4 separate regions of the Homo sapiens genome follow, and regions 1, 2 and 3 are each linked to region 4. The links are contacts of gene promoters, found by promoter capture Hi-C in human tissues and cell types (Jung and others, 2019). All regions are on one chromosome and are shown on one strand. The core of a region is centred on a gene start or on the middle of the fragment in contact, and the rest is flanking DNA. Distances in the headings are between cores, read along the strand shown. Region 1 has its middle 130 kb from the start of LINC01893. Region 2 overlaps ZNF516 (zinc finger protein 516). Region 3 has its middle 46 kb from the start of LINC01879. Region 4 holds the start of ZNF516 (zinc finger protein 516).

Region 1 (3,225 bases), core at 458-2,957, 160 kb after region 4:
CTCTTATAGTTTGGGGGGCAAGAAGATGGTGAATTGGTCTGAAAGGGTGGTGGAAAGAAGGCAAAAAGTGGTCAATATCAATATATATTTAAGAGGCAGAAGTGGCTAGATTTTGTCATGGCTTAGACAGGATGGGAACTGGGCTGAAGGCAAAGGCTAGCTTCCAGATTTCTAGGAGGCATAATGGGAGGGGCATCTCCTGAGTAAGAGAAACACCAAAGGAGGAGCAGACACCTGGATGACAATGAAAAGTCAGGTTTGAGGTGAAATGCAGTGGAGGTGAGTGGACTAATTTGTATGAGGCTGCAGAGGGCACATGTTCTTTAGCATCCCTCTCAATGACTGCCATGAGGACACGGGAGCCTGATTTTTAGATGACAAATACTGAAAGGTATGAAAAAGATCCTAGTGACACTTAATTCAACAAGAAAACACCATATTTCTATGACTTTTCTTAGATGGCATTTTTGATATCATGGACACCAACAGGATGTAAATTCACACTTCTTATATCCCTCCAAAAGCCAACTAGTTATCAATTATTGTTGATTCTTCTTCTAAAATGTCTCTCAAGGAAGTCTTCCACCACTGTGTTAACTTAATCCTGCTCTGTATTGCCTTCAGAAAATTAAGACCCTCCCAAATGAATTTTCTGCATCCATCTTCTCTTACCTCCATCTACCCACTACAAAGCTTATAATCAGCTTTATAAATGAAATCCTGAACTACCATTTAACTCTTTGGACAGTATTAAAACTCAGATAGTTTTGTGGTTGGCATTGGCTGTGCCGAATTATCTGTTGTCAACTGTGCCTCAATCTCTTCCAGAGTCTCCTGTGCCCTGCAGAAGAGAAGCCTGCAGCTACACTGACCAGCATTCCTTCTGCTGCAGGGTTCCAGGTTAAAGACTGCCAAGAGGCACTGTAGGGAGGTTTGGAAGGTGGAAGATAAGGAGAACTGTTACTCTCCAGTAGATTCGATGGCAGAAACAAAGGTGGAAGGTGCATTCTTGAGCATCATCTACTCAGTGCTGCCTGCAGCTGTGCTTGGGAGACAGCTCCTGCTGAGATGTCTGAAAGCTTTGGTGGCATTGAGTATCCTGTAAATTATCTGCTTGAGCAGTTGGATTCCACCCTTCACCCTCCAGCCTTCCAGGAGGCTATGGAAGCCTCCAATGATTTCCTGCATTAAACCGAGAATACCTAGATTGACTTCTGTTTTCCTGAAGCAGTCACCCTTCACATGACCCCAAACTGATCGTTGTAAACTCAACTCTCTTCATACTGTCATTTCTCTCATCCCCAGTATCATAGCTTCCAGTCACAATCAATCATGGGCTTCCCCTGGAGAGTTTTTCCCACTCCCTGGAGGGGTTTAGTGACCAGCTCAGTGCCTGGCATCAGGAAAACACTCAATGGATGTATGGTAATAAAATAAATATATGCATGAATCTTTATATCTTTGCCTCTTTTGTGTCCTCTGCTTCAGTTGCCTATCTTCCAATCCTATTGTGCAAGGGCCTGCACATGAGTTATTTGTTAATTCAAAAGATATTTATGAATACCTACACAAACAAATGTATCACTATCCAGTTCAAATTCCCTATGAACCCCTTCCCAAATTTTTCATGCAGATTTAATTGCCAGGTCTTTTGTGTTTCCACAGAAATTTGTACACACAGGGCCAGCTGCATAATTTGTAAGGCCCAGTGTAAAATGAAAATGGAGGGAGGCTCTTTGTTAAAGAAGCAAGATGAAAGATGTCATTAGAGGTACAGGTGCCATAGAAAGATTTTGCCTCTCTTTTGGGTCTCTCTCTCTCTGCTATCATGGTGATTTTTAGTTACTATATAGCATCATGTTCCTTCAGGTCCAGGCACGTCTGTGGGGCTGGCACAGACCTTCATGGGCACTGGGGGCCACCCCATGACCTGGCACAAGTGCTGTCCATCCTGGGCTAGTGTGTGGAGCCTTGGTGGGGCAAGAGGTTCAGCCTGGCATTTCCTCTCCCATGTAGTTGTGATCCCATCCCACATGAATGGATGACTCCAAGGCCATTGCTACCTTTACGCTAGTACTGTGTGTAAGCCCCATCAAAGCTCCAAGCCCCTGACACATGCTCCACTATTCCAGTGGATTTCAGTTACAAAACACAAATTAAAAGATAAAATCATTATGAATTTCGAGATGGCACTCACAGAGCATTAGAACCCAAGCACAGGTCCCTGGTTATATGCCCCAGAAGCCAGTCCTGGGCACAGCTTGCTTGATGATCAGAGCCAAGAGCATGGACCCTGGAATCAGCCTGTCTGGGCTTGATATCGGCTTGGCTGCTCACTTCCTGCATGACCCTGGGGAGTTGCCAAACTTCCTGAAGCTTCTGCTTCCCCATCTAGAGGATGAGGGAATAACTGTGCTTACCACCCAGGGCTGTTGTTACCATTAAATAAAACAATATATGTATAATCCAGCTCCCAGCACACAGCATGTACCCAATAAATGTTTGCCAATATTATTGTAGTATTCATCCCATGAGATTAAAAAGATAACACAAGTTACAGCATTCCGTGGGAGCATTCGTCTTGGCTTTGACTGTCCCTGAGCCTCTCATATCTCCAGGGCCCCTCCAGGTCACAGAGTCTTGTTCTTTTCTGCTTTTGCCTGCCAAGGGCCATGGGGCACACATGGCGGGCAGGGGGTCCACTCTCACAGTGTTGACTCTGTGCCCGAGGCACCAAGACTCAGCTGCTCCAGAGGCATCCCTTGCTGCATACCAGCTGTGATCCATAATGAGGGAGTATGTCCCCCAACTCTGTCATTGGCACATCCCAACAAGAGTCCCAGTGTCCCCACAGTGTCCCCCACAGTTTGCTGTGAGAATAGATTGTTCAGCTTCTTCCCAGGGCCCCCCTTTTCCCTGATATGAGTCATTGGGGCCCAGTGGGCATGATGATATTAGGTACATTGTTTCACTGGCTAGAAACTCTTTCCCCACCCATTCTTCATGCATGACCAGACATACTTGTAAGAAAACATTTTAAATGGTCCATTTTCAAGGCATGATAAATCTAAGTACTGGTAGCCAGCCTGCAAATGTAACAAACCGCATGGCTCATGCACCTAGGTTATGATAAGTGAACAGAATGTAGAGGAGGGGTCAGCCCATAAAAGGGAAGAAAGTTTTGTTTTTGGGAAATTGAAACTTTGGGGTATAATCTTATAAGCG
Region 2 (3,559 bases), core at 751-3,250, 140 kb after region 4:
CATTATATTTTGTACTCTTTATATTAGAATTTGTAACTAGATTGATGTATTTAACTATTTCTGAAAAAGTAATTCAATGTTTTAGTTGTGTGATAAAAATATTTAGATAAAACATATTCATTCTATTGGAATTTGAAATAAATAAAAACATCTTGGAGTTCTGAGATTTGTAAGACATTTTTCCCCAATTTCAGAGGGTGGCGTAAATCGTTTGACAGCCCGCTTTGGTCTGTGGTTATTTATTTTTGTTGGCTGAACATAAACCAAAGTGTTAATGCTCTTTATTTATGGAAGAGTTTTAGGGTAATTCACAAGATCGTTCATCTGAACAGATGCCCAGATGGCCCGAGTGGTTTTTTTCCAACTCTTTTGTGGACTCGAGGACATACAGTTTTTTAATGGAGACGCTGTGTTTTTCTCATTTTCTTTCACAGCACACATGTTATTTCCCCACTGAATACACCCACTGTTCTTACCCTTGCACTGTCACCCATACAGGACGCACAGGGATGGACGCGGACGGAATTCTGACTCAGCCACACCTGGAGGAAATTATTGTGTCAAAAATGTGGGGACACAAGGGCTGGCACTGTGGTTTGCAATGGTTTACTGATGAGACAGCAAAAATGAGACAGGACCATCAGATGCAATAAAGATTCTAATTTAAAAAGATAAAATGTGTTTTAAAATTAAAAGATAGAACTGTGTCTCTACTGGCTGAGGAAAGAACAGACTAGATAAGTTCCCGAATGTGGCTTTCCAGATGTGCTGGGCAGGAAATGGAACTCTGAACAGCACTGGGCGTCCTTCCCCCAACCGGAGCGTCTAGCCTTGGGTACGCCACTCTGCGCTGGGTACGCCACTCTCCGCTGGGTACACCACTCTCCGCTGGGTACGCCACTCTCCGCTGGGTACGCCACTCTCCGCTGGGTACGCCACTCTCCGCTGGGTACGCCACTCTGCGCTGGGTGCGCCACTCTGCGCTGGGGACGCCACTCTGCGCTGGGGACGCCACTCTGCGCTGGGTGCGCCACTCTGCGGTGAAAATGCTGTTGTGGAAGCCCGAAGGCCTTTGATACTCTGAAAGGCCCTTAGATGAAGTGCAGACCTTGTCTAACTCTGCTGAGGTTTATGCCTCGCTGTTTAGAACCTCCCTCCTCTTGGATGGCTGGTTCTTCTGAGACGGGCGTGCATCCGAAACGAAGTGGCAACACCAAAGTCCTTAATAGGTAGCTGACATTGAAGTGAAGGGCTAAGAACACTTGTGTTAGGACAAAACAAAACCCTGGCCTACATCTCTCTGTGTCACCTGACAATGGTCAGTTCCCCTGGTAACACAGGAGCTTATTGGTGTTCCTGTAGCCACATCCCAGACCCTTTGGTTCCACAAGTAACCAAGCTCCTTCCCCCAGAAAGCAGTATTACATCCTCCTTTATCCACCTCCTGATCACCCAGCAGTGAGGGCGCGACATCTACCCTGGCTGCTCTGGGCATCTTGCTGGGTGGGAAATGGGTGAAAGGCAGTGGCGCGGGGTCTCCGTGTCTGCAGTTTGCCCATGTCGTGCTAGGTGCGGAAGCTGGGTATCATGACGCCCCCCACCCCCAACAATGTAAAACCTTACCACGAATGGCTGCATTCATCGCAGCACTTTTATTTTCCCTTCCTTAGCTGTTTGAAAACAGTGGTGCATTTCTAATGTGTGTTATTAATGTTCTCAATCTTACGTTTTTAAAAGATGTTACTGTAAATTACAGAAAGAAAATGCGAGATGCCCTGGTCTTTACCAGCGTGACACGTTCTTGGGATGTCCGATTTCCTCACTGTCTGCTGAGGCACAGGGGCTTAGGATGGCTTTAAGGAAGGGGAACTTCCTTAGGAATCTGGAGCAGGTGACAGTCCCACATCCCTCTGTCTGATTTCTTTATGGGTAGGGAAAATGTAGTGAAACAATCACAATGAGAATGCTGTCTTAGTCCTTTCAGGCTGCTATCACAAAATACCTAAGATTGGGCAATTTTTAAAGGTATTTTTTGCTCAAGTTCTGGAGGCTGGGACATTCATGATCAGTGTGGCAGCAGGTTCCGTGTCTGGGGAGAGCTTTGCACTTTATAGATGGAGCCTTCTTGCTGTGTCCTCGTGGAGTAAGAGGTGAACAAGCCCTCTCGGGCCTCTTTGATGAGGGCCCTGCTCCTGCTCCTGAGAGCTCTGCCCTCATGACCCTGATCACCTCCCGAAGACCCCACCTGTTGATGCCAACACATTGGGTGTCAGGTTTCAACGTATGAAATTCGGTGGGAACACAGACATTCAAACCGTAGCAAATGCTGTCTCCTGTTTTCATTTTTCAACTGAGGGAGATGTGGAGATTCCCATTCCAAGCCCTTGGGTGGGTTATTTCATCTGCCAAGAGTAAATTCTTCATTGCCAACAGTTTCAAGTTATAAAGGGCAAGAGGACAAGGGGACTCCATCTTGCCTTTTTATGTGCCCAGATTTGTCCATGGAAGACCAGTATTCAGGTCACAAGCATGAGACCCACTTGACTTCGTACATCAATCTCCTTATGTCCTGCTCTTCCATTCTATAAGAGTGGCATTGGTGGACCGGAATGTTCCCAGGACAGGGTTACCGAGTCTAAAGGGAGGGTTTAAGACAGACTTCGCAAAATTAGATGAACCGCTGTGAAATATTTGGAGGTCTGGCATGGGTATTTTGCATAGTAGAACTGTTGATGTGTGGTGGAAGGAACAGGCTGATGGTGCCTCAAAATAAAACGTCACCTGTAGGTTAGGCTGTGCAGGAGTAGATGACTCGCCCTGACCCTGTGTCTTAGCAGAAGCTCGACATTCATTTTTAAGGAATACAATATTAGAGTCCTTACTCAGAGAAGTAAATTGGAACCAGATAAACATGCAAGTTTCACTTAATCAAAAGATCTTAGGCTTCTTTAAAATTGTAGAAATGGTACAGAAAGTTTTCAACCTTATGAATTTGCTTAACAAATTCTGTGCCATGTGGTAAGCACTGAAATAGGTGCAGGCATAGAAATATGAACAAAATGGAACCTGCTGTTTGGGCTGTCACAGTGGAGGAGGAACATGGGTCTAAAAATGATGAGTTCTAGGCCAGGCACCTGTAATCCCAGCTCACACCTGTAATCCCAGCACTTTGGTAGGCTGAAGTGGGCGGATCACGAGGTCAGGAGATCGAGATCATCCTGGCCAACATGGTGAAACCTCGTCTCTACTACAATTAGAAAAATTAGCTGGGCATGGTGGCACGTACCTGTAGTCCCAGCTACTCGGCAGGCTGAGGCAGGATAATCGCTTGAACCAGGGAGCCAGAGGTTGCAGTGAGCCGAGATCGCACCACTGCACTCCAGCCTGATGACAGAGTGAGACTGTCTCAAAAAAAAAAAAAAAAATGAGTTCTAATTCAGAGGGAATACATACAAGCTCACAATGTCTGTGGAAGAGGAATGGAGCCTCTTCCATTGGGGAGTGAGGTCAAGGATCTAATCAGATACCCAGGTGTCACCAGGACTAGGTGACACACACC
Region 3 (3,185 bases), core at 652-3,151, 240 kb before region 4:
CATGTGACCTTCTTTGGAGATAGAGTCTCTTTAGATATGATCCAGTTAAGATGAGGTCATAGTAGATTAGGGTGTGGGCCCTAAATCCATGGACCACTTATGTCCTTAAAAGAAGGGGGACATTAGAACACAGACACAGAGAGGACCCTGAATGCCATGCAGAGATGGAGGCAGAGATCAGAAGGATGCAGCTAGAAGCCAAGGGGTGTCAAGAAGTGCCCAGAACTCCCAGAAACTGGGAGAGGCAGGAATCTATTGCAAATGAAGCCAGGCACCCAGGGGTGCAGATGTATCAGTCAGGGAGGCTCAGGCAAGGCACAGGATCCAAACAAGTTAGTCAAAGGCCCAGGCCCAGCACCCTTGACCCTTGGGAACAGCACCCACAGGAACAGTGTCTGACTCCCAGTGGAAATGCAATGATCCATTCTATCAATGCGTCAGTGACACCCATCCTCCACTTTGGGGGATCCATTCTATTAATGAATTAATGACACCCATCCTCCACTTAGGGGGATCCATTCTATCAGTGAATCAGTGAAACCCATCCTTCACTTTGGGGGATCCATTCTATCAGTGACCAGTGAAACCCATCTTCTACTTTGGGGGATCCATTCTATCAATGAATCAATGCAACCCATCCTCCACTTTGGGGAATCCATTCTATCAGTGACCAGTGAAACCCATCCTCCACTTTGGGGGATCCATTCTATTCATGAGTCAATGAAACCCATCCTCTACTTTGTGGGGAATGATCCACTTATTCCAGCGGATATCTTAACATTTTGAAAGTATTTCCTTTCACATCTGTGTGGGAGAACTCACGACTTCACCATGGAATGAGAAACCCGAAAGGTTGATTATACTCTGGAGGCCTCGGTGAAAAGTCAGTTCTTGGTGGAGAGCGGGTGGTGGTTGCACAAAGATGGTTTTCAAGTCTGAGTATAAGTAAATGTTATGTTTTGGAACACGCCCACCAAATCGACCCCAGAACTGCATTTGCCTCCTGGAAATGTTCAGCAAGGTCTGCCATGAAATGCAGCCAGGACCTCTGGAATGAGTGCAGATTTTAACAAAACCCTGATCTCACAGGCACTGGGGTTTCTATAAGTAAATTGATAGTCGACACAGCTTTAGCTATAGCGGTTCTCAGAGGTACACCCACAGCCCTGTGCACGTGTCCTTCTTAGGTCATGAATCACCAAGTCATTCTTCTTGGACACTCCAATCGCCGGTGAGAGGTAACATGGTTCCCATCTGCAGTGAGGAAACTGAGCCTCAAGAGGTTCAGGGGACATGAGGACCCCCAGGGCTTCCACACCGCCTCCATGCCGACTCCCCAACACTGCGCGGAGAGGTGGCCTCTTCCTCATAGAGGGTGGGCTGCACCCCATGCGCAGAGGACACCGCCGTCAGTCCTGGCTGACGACCCTGCACTCCCTCCTTGGCGTGTCCTAGATACACGTGTGCGAGATCTCAGTGTTAATTGTGCTTTTGTTGTAACAGGGCCACGCAGCGTATTCCTCCACAGACCATGCTTCATTTCATCTCCGGGATGAAGGCGGATAAAAGGCTTTTCTGTCCTGTGCTGCTGTTTGCTGCTGCCTCAAAACAATTCTGCAAAACTGGTAAGAAGCAAAGCTTTTGTTGCTGCATATGGGAAGGAGAGTGTCGCCTGTCAGCTGTGGCACATCCCGTCCTGGGTGCAGCTGGTCACCCTTGCAGGGCGAGCTGCAAAAGAGACAGTGGATTCCTTTGCCACGTTCTTGCTGCCTCTCAAAATAGAACTGCTTTAAAGTTGTCACTCTTGAAGTCATTCCGTTAATTTGTTTCTGATATCTGCTTATTTTATGTCTGCCTTTGACTTTCTTTTTCAAATGTCACCACATTGTGCTTTCTCTTCCTTTAAAAGAATTCCAGGGTGGTTCTTTCTCTCCCATCCTCACTATGGCATCTTTGGCTTGTATTTTCAGCACTTGCCTCCTTTTAAAAATTGCTTGACCCAGGTGGGCATGGTGGCTCATATCTGTAATCCCAGCACTTTGGGAGGCCAAGGCAGGTGCATTGCTTGAGGGCAGAAGTTCGAGACCAGCCTGACCAACATGGTGAAATTCGTCTCTACTAAAAATACAAAAATCAGCCAGTCGTGCTGGGCGTGCCTGTAGTCCCAGCTACTCAGGAGGCTCAGGCAGGAGAATCGCTTGAACTCGGGAGGTGGAGGTTACAGTGAGCTGAGATTGTGCCACTGCACTCCAGGTGGGGTGATAGAGCGAGTCTTCGTCTCAAAGGAAAAAAAGAAATTGCCTTACCCGTTTTTTTTGTTTTGTTTTGTTTTGTTTTGTTTTTTGATTTTTTGAGATGGAGTCTTGCTCTGTCGCCCAGGCTGGGGTGCAGTGGTGCAGTCTCGGCTTATTGCAAGCTCTGCCTCCCGGGTTCACGGCATTCTCCTTCCTCAGCCTCCGGAGTAGCTGGGACTACAGACGCCCACCACCACACCCAGCTAAATTTTTTGCATTTTTAGTAGAGACGGGGTTTCACTGTGTTAGCCAGGATGGTCTCGATCTCCTGACCTCGTGATCCACCCACCTTGGCCTCCCAAAGTGCTGGGGTTACAGGCATGAGCCACCATGCCCGGCCTTTTTTTTTTTTTGGAGGGAGTTCTTAAGACTTTCTCCCAAGAACACCCTGAAAACTGCTGACGGACTTGAGAGCTTCTGGATTCCATGAACTTCTGGACAAATGCATCGGCTGTGGGATAGTCTCAGCTTTGAACTTCAAGATTCCAAACCTGAGAAAAATGAGAAACAGAACTTCAGTTTGGATATTCAGATTTTACATTTTTCAACATTAAACTAGGAATTTTCCTCTCATCTCGGTCCAGTGAGCCCTTCTAGAAATGGGGACCATTCAGTCCTCTGTCTCATGGGGCTTTTGTGTACAGATTGGTGGCCGATTGCCTGCAAGTCTGGGAACACCCATGCATGTTGAGGGTTCCAACAACCTTCTGGCACACCAGCCAGCTGACCCCTTAACTGGATTAAGGAAGACCTAGAAAACTGGCCAAGCATTATTTTTGGATGTGTCTGTGATGGTGTCTCCAGAGATTTACACGTGATCTGAGTGGACCTGCGGGGGAATGTCCACCCTCAATGATGTGGGCAGCAACCACCCAGTCAGCTGCAGACCCG
Region 4 (3,233 bases), core at 396-2,895:
GGCTTTGTAATTAACTGAATTTGGGGATACTTTCTTTGTGCATTTTCACAGTGTACTGAAATGAATGGTGGGCACGTCAATACTTTTCGGTGAATCAGACTTAAACGTGATTGCTGAAGAATACATCCCACTTAGGCATTCATGCTGAAGCCAGCAACAATTGTCCGTGACCTTTAACATGCCCGCTCTCCAAATCAGTGCAGGTCGTTAGTCACACGGAGCTTACATTTGAGGACTCGCGGATCCTTCATAGCGGAGGTTGTCCCTGTCTTTCTGCCTGACTCCCCCCCGCCCCCCGACCCCGACACACACTCCCCACCGCCCCCAGAAACATCACACATGCAGAATGCCCCCCCCGTCTGATCGCCAGCTTTCGGGCACATGCGCCTCCCTTTGCAGCGCGTCTGGAGTAGTTTCTTTTGTAAACGCCCTAAGTTGGGGAGGGCCGCGGGCTGCGAGTGTGAGGCGCAGAGAGAGACGCCGCCGCTGAGGTAACCGCCAGGATTGCAGCGCTGATTGCTACGCGGAGCCACGTTGGGCGTCTTGGACGGAATCCACCTCCACTGCGGAGTTATCACGAGGAGAAGGAGAACAATACGGCCAGGAGCCTGGTGGGAGAAGATAGTGTTACCCCTCCGCAGGCCGCAGCTCCCCGGGTCTACGTCACCGGCCGTGAAGGGGCGCTCGCCCTCGCTAGCTCCGACCCGCCCCTCCCCCGCCCCCGCGCGCCCGCCCTCCCCTCCCCCACCCCGGCCATCCCTGCCCTGTAACAGGAGAGCGTTTTGGAGTCAAATTAGGATTTCTAGTCCCAGACTCAACTTATTACAACTAACTACTGCTCGTGGGGAGTAGGTGAGGTGAAGAAATGAAGTTTTAAGAACAGAAAAATAAGAGTTGAACTTTCGAGGCTACCGGTAAACAACCCCTTCATTTTTAAATGGCCGGGTGGCAGAGCCGCTGTTTGAAGTCTTTCCAGCGGGACCTCTGTGACCCTTGATTCAGGACTTAATGTATTGATCCTGCATCTGAACACCCCCAGAGGCATTTACCAGGAAGTTGAGTGACACGCACACGCTACGCCGTGTGTAATGCACACGCACCTGGGACCCCCGAAGGGGTGTCCCCATTTCAGTCCAGATGGGGCGCAGTGCCCAGGTACCCGCCGGCGGGACCCGCATCCCGAGCACGTCTGTACGTATGGATGCGCGTGTGCGCGCGGAAACGGCCTCCGGGAGCCGGGGCTGCAGCAGCCTTAGACCTTGACGAGGGGCGACCACTGGCCGCTGGAACCGTGATTCAGTGCTATTAGGGGAGGAATTGGCTGTGTCTGAGTCACTGCAAGCCTCCAGACTGTCCCCTCAGTGTGGCAGAACTTTGTGCTGATGAGACAATAGTGGAGTGTGCGTTTCCTACAGGGCAGACCATTTCCAGGCTGGGGGAAGCCTCCGGCCTGCGCCGGGCCGTGAGCGCCCGGCCCCCTCCCCGTGCCGCGCAGCCCCCCGAGCCCGGCTCGCGCCGGGGCCCCCGCGGGGCGGACGCGTCCGGGGCGCGCGCGGGCGGCGCGAGGAGGGGGCCGGGCGCGTGGCGGGCCCCGCGCGCCCTCGCGCGTCCCCCGCGCCCGGGCGCAGCTGGCGCGGTCGGTCTAGTGCAGCGCTCGGCTCCGCGCCGCGGGCGCTCGGCTTCACCTTCAGATGCGCGGGGCGTGCGCGTCCTCCTCCCCAGGCCCGCCGCCTCCCTGCCAAGGTAGGGGCCGCGGGCGGGGGGAGGGCTGCGCCGCAGGGGCCGCGGGCGGGCGGTGGGCGCGGGGCCCGGAGCCCCGACGTGCCCCGTACTCTGGTGTGCGCCGCTGGGGGTAGGGGGGGAGGCGCTGGGGAGGGGGGTGCGCCGGGGAGGGGCCCCCCGGGCGCGGGGAGGGCTACTTGGCTTTCCCGGTGGGTAGTTGCTCTGCTCGTCAATTCCAGGATAGGGGAAGATGCAACTTCGGGCGGCGGGGCGAGCGCCCGGGAGGTGGTTTTTACCGCAGTGGAGGGGCGGGGTGGGGGCCGGGGTGGGAGCGCGGAAGAGGCTCTGGCTTTGTACACTTTGTCAAAGGCGACGCGGGAGGAGGGGAGCTCGGATGCGCTCTCCATCCATTAGGAGACAAAGAGCAAATTGCCTTACTTTAAAGTAAAACGCTCCGGCTAATGAAGGTGGGTGATGGGGCTGCGGGCCCGAGGAGCCGCTTCAATTATTAAGGGTTTGGCGGATGGGATCGATGCCTGTGGGCACCGCGCGCTGCTGCCTAGGGGACGTGTTTGCGTGGAGGTGGGGGTGGCCTTGTTTTTTACGGCCCCCTCCCCGGCTGCTTGCCAGTCTGCTGGGAGCTTCTAAGTGACCCTAACGTTAAAGAAGTGAGAGGTCCTGGAAGGGAAGTTCGGGCGGGGGTGGGGGTGGGGGCGAGGGTCTGGCACCGACTCGGAGAGGGGTGGGCAGGGACTCCTCGGAGCTGCGCCCCGCCGGGTGCGGGTGGGGGAGGCCTCGGTGGCGAGATGAACCCGGGTGTATGAAGGAAGAATGCGGTGGGGTGTGTGTGGTTGGGCGGGAGGTGGGGGGAGGCGCCTCCGCTGCCATTTCCAGGGAGAACTAACAGACTGAATAGTTACGATCAGTATTTAGATTAAACCGCCTCAAGTTTTAACGAAACTTTGTATGAATAAGTTTGTTAAATGGCAGCCGAGTGGGGTATTTAAAAGCAGCAGTTTATGTGTGTGGTGAGGAAAGCCAGTGGACCCCCGCAATTAGGGACCAGAGGGAACCAGCCTTTTACCCGAAAAATGTGGGTCTGTAAGTCAGCCTCATCTATTATCAGCGTTAATAAGCTTCCCGCAGCAGACCGGGAGCTCTGGGGGCTGTGTGTGTGTCTTACTCATTCCGCTGATAAAGAGTCACCGGGTCTCCGGGTGTGCAAAGATCAACTTGCGCAGCCCTCTTTTTAAATATATTCATTCTGTGCTTTATTTAATCCAGATGCACAAAAAGCCATTTGCTGCTGCATTGTTGGTTTACATTTTTTGAAAAGGCGACTGGTGTAACCTGTGGAATTTGAAATGCAAATAAGAGCCTGTGGGAGTAGAGGCAGAACAGATCAGCATTTATAAAGTGGAAAAGATTTAATGTCTTTGAAATCATTGCAGGGGAAGAAACTGGAGGGGGAGTGTGATTTTTCAGGGAGTGAATTGTGACGTCAGGTCTTT

What was found. Contacts are between HindIII fragments. The study calls those that stand out against the background at their distance.
Region 1: a fragment that was not itself captured here is called in contact with the fragment with the promoter of ZNF516 in region 4 in 2 of the 25 tissues and cell types used here (hippocampus and mesenchymal stem cells).
Region 2: a contact is called between a fragment that was not itself captured here and the fragment with the promoter of ZNF516 in region 4, in 1 of the 25 tissues and cell types used here (lymphoblastoid cells).
Region 3: a contact is called between a fragment that was not itself captured here and the fragment with the promoter of ZNF516 in region 4, in 1 of the 25 tissues and cell types used here (lymphoblastoid cells).

Annotation. Positions count from the first base shown.
Region 1 is chr18:76,338,576-76,341,800 of GRCh38, reverse strand. No RefSeq gene overlaps it. Among named protein-coding and RNA genes, the nearest start is that of LINC01893, 130 kb to the right of the region's middle. The HindIII fragment of the contact is 3,027 bases long and covers 194-3,220 here.
Region 2 is chr18:76,354,795-76,358,353 of GRCh38, reverse strand. It overlaps ZNF516 (zinc finger protein 516), which reads left to right. Exons shown (of 7, transcript NM_014643.4): 7 at 1-672. Among named protein-coding and RNA genes, the nearest start is that of ZNF516-AS1, 140 kb to the left of the region's middle. The HindIII fragment of the contact is 7,389 bases long and covers 1-3,559 here.
Region 3 is chr18:76,734,686-76,737,870 of GRCh38, reverse strand. No RefSeq gene overlaps it. Among named protein-coding and RNA genes, the nearest start is that of LINC01879, 46 kb to the right of the region's middle. The HindIII fragment of the contact is 4,435 bases long and covers 1-3,185 here.
Region 4 is chr18:76,493,654-76,496,886 of GRCh38, reverse strand. ZNF516 (zinc finger protein 516) reads left to right here and starts at 1,645. Exons shown (of 7, transcript NM_014643.4): 1 at 1,645-1,743. ZNF516-DT (ZNF516 divergent transcript) reads right to left here and starts at 1,548. Exons shown (of 2, transcript NR_164145.1): 1 at 1,101-1,548; 2 at 1-608. It overlaps ZNF516-AS1 (ZNF516 antisense RNA 1), which reads right to left. Exons shown (of 2, transcript NR_136504.1): 2 at 2,969-3,233. RefSeq lists silencers at 1,536-1,595, 1,726-1,825, 2,526-2,615. The HindIII fragment of the contact is 9,582 bases long and covers 1-3,233 here.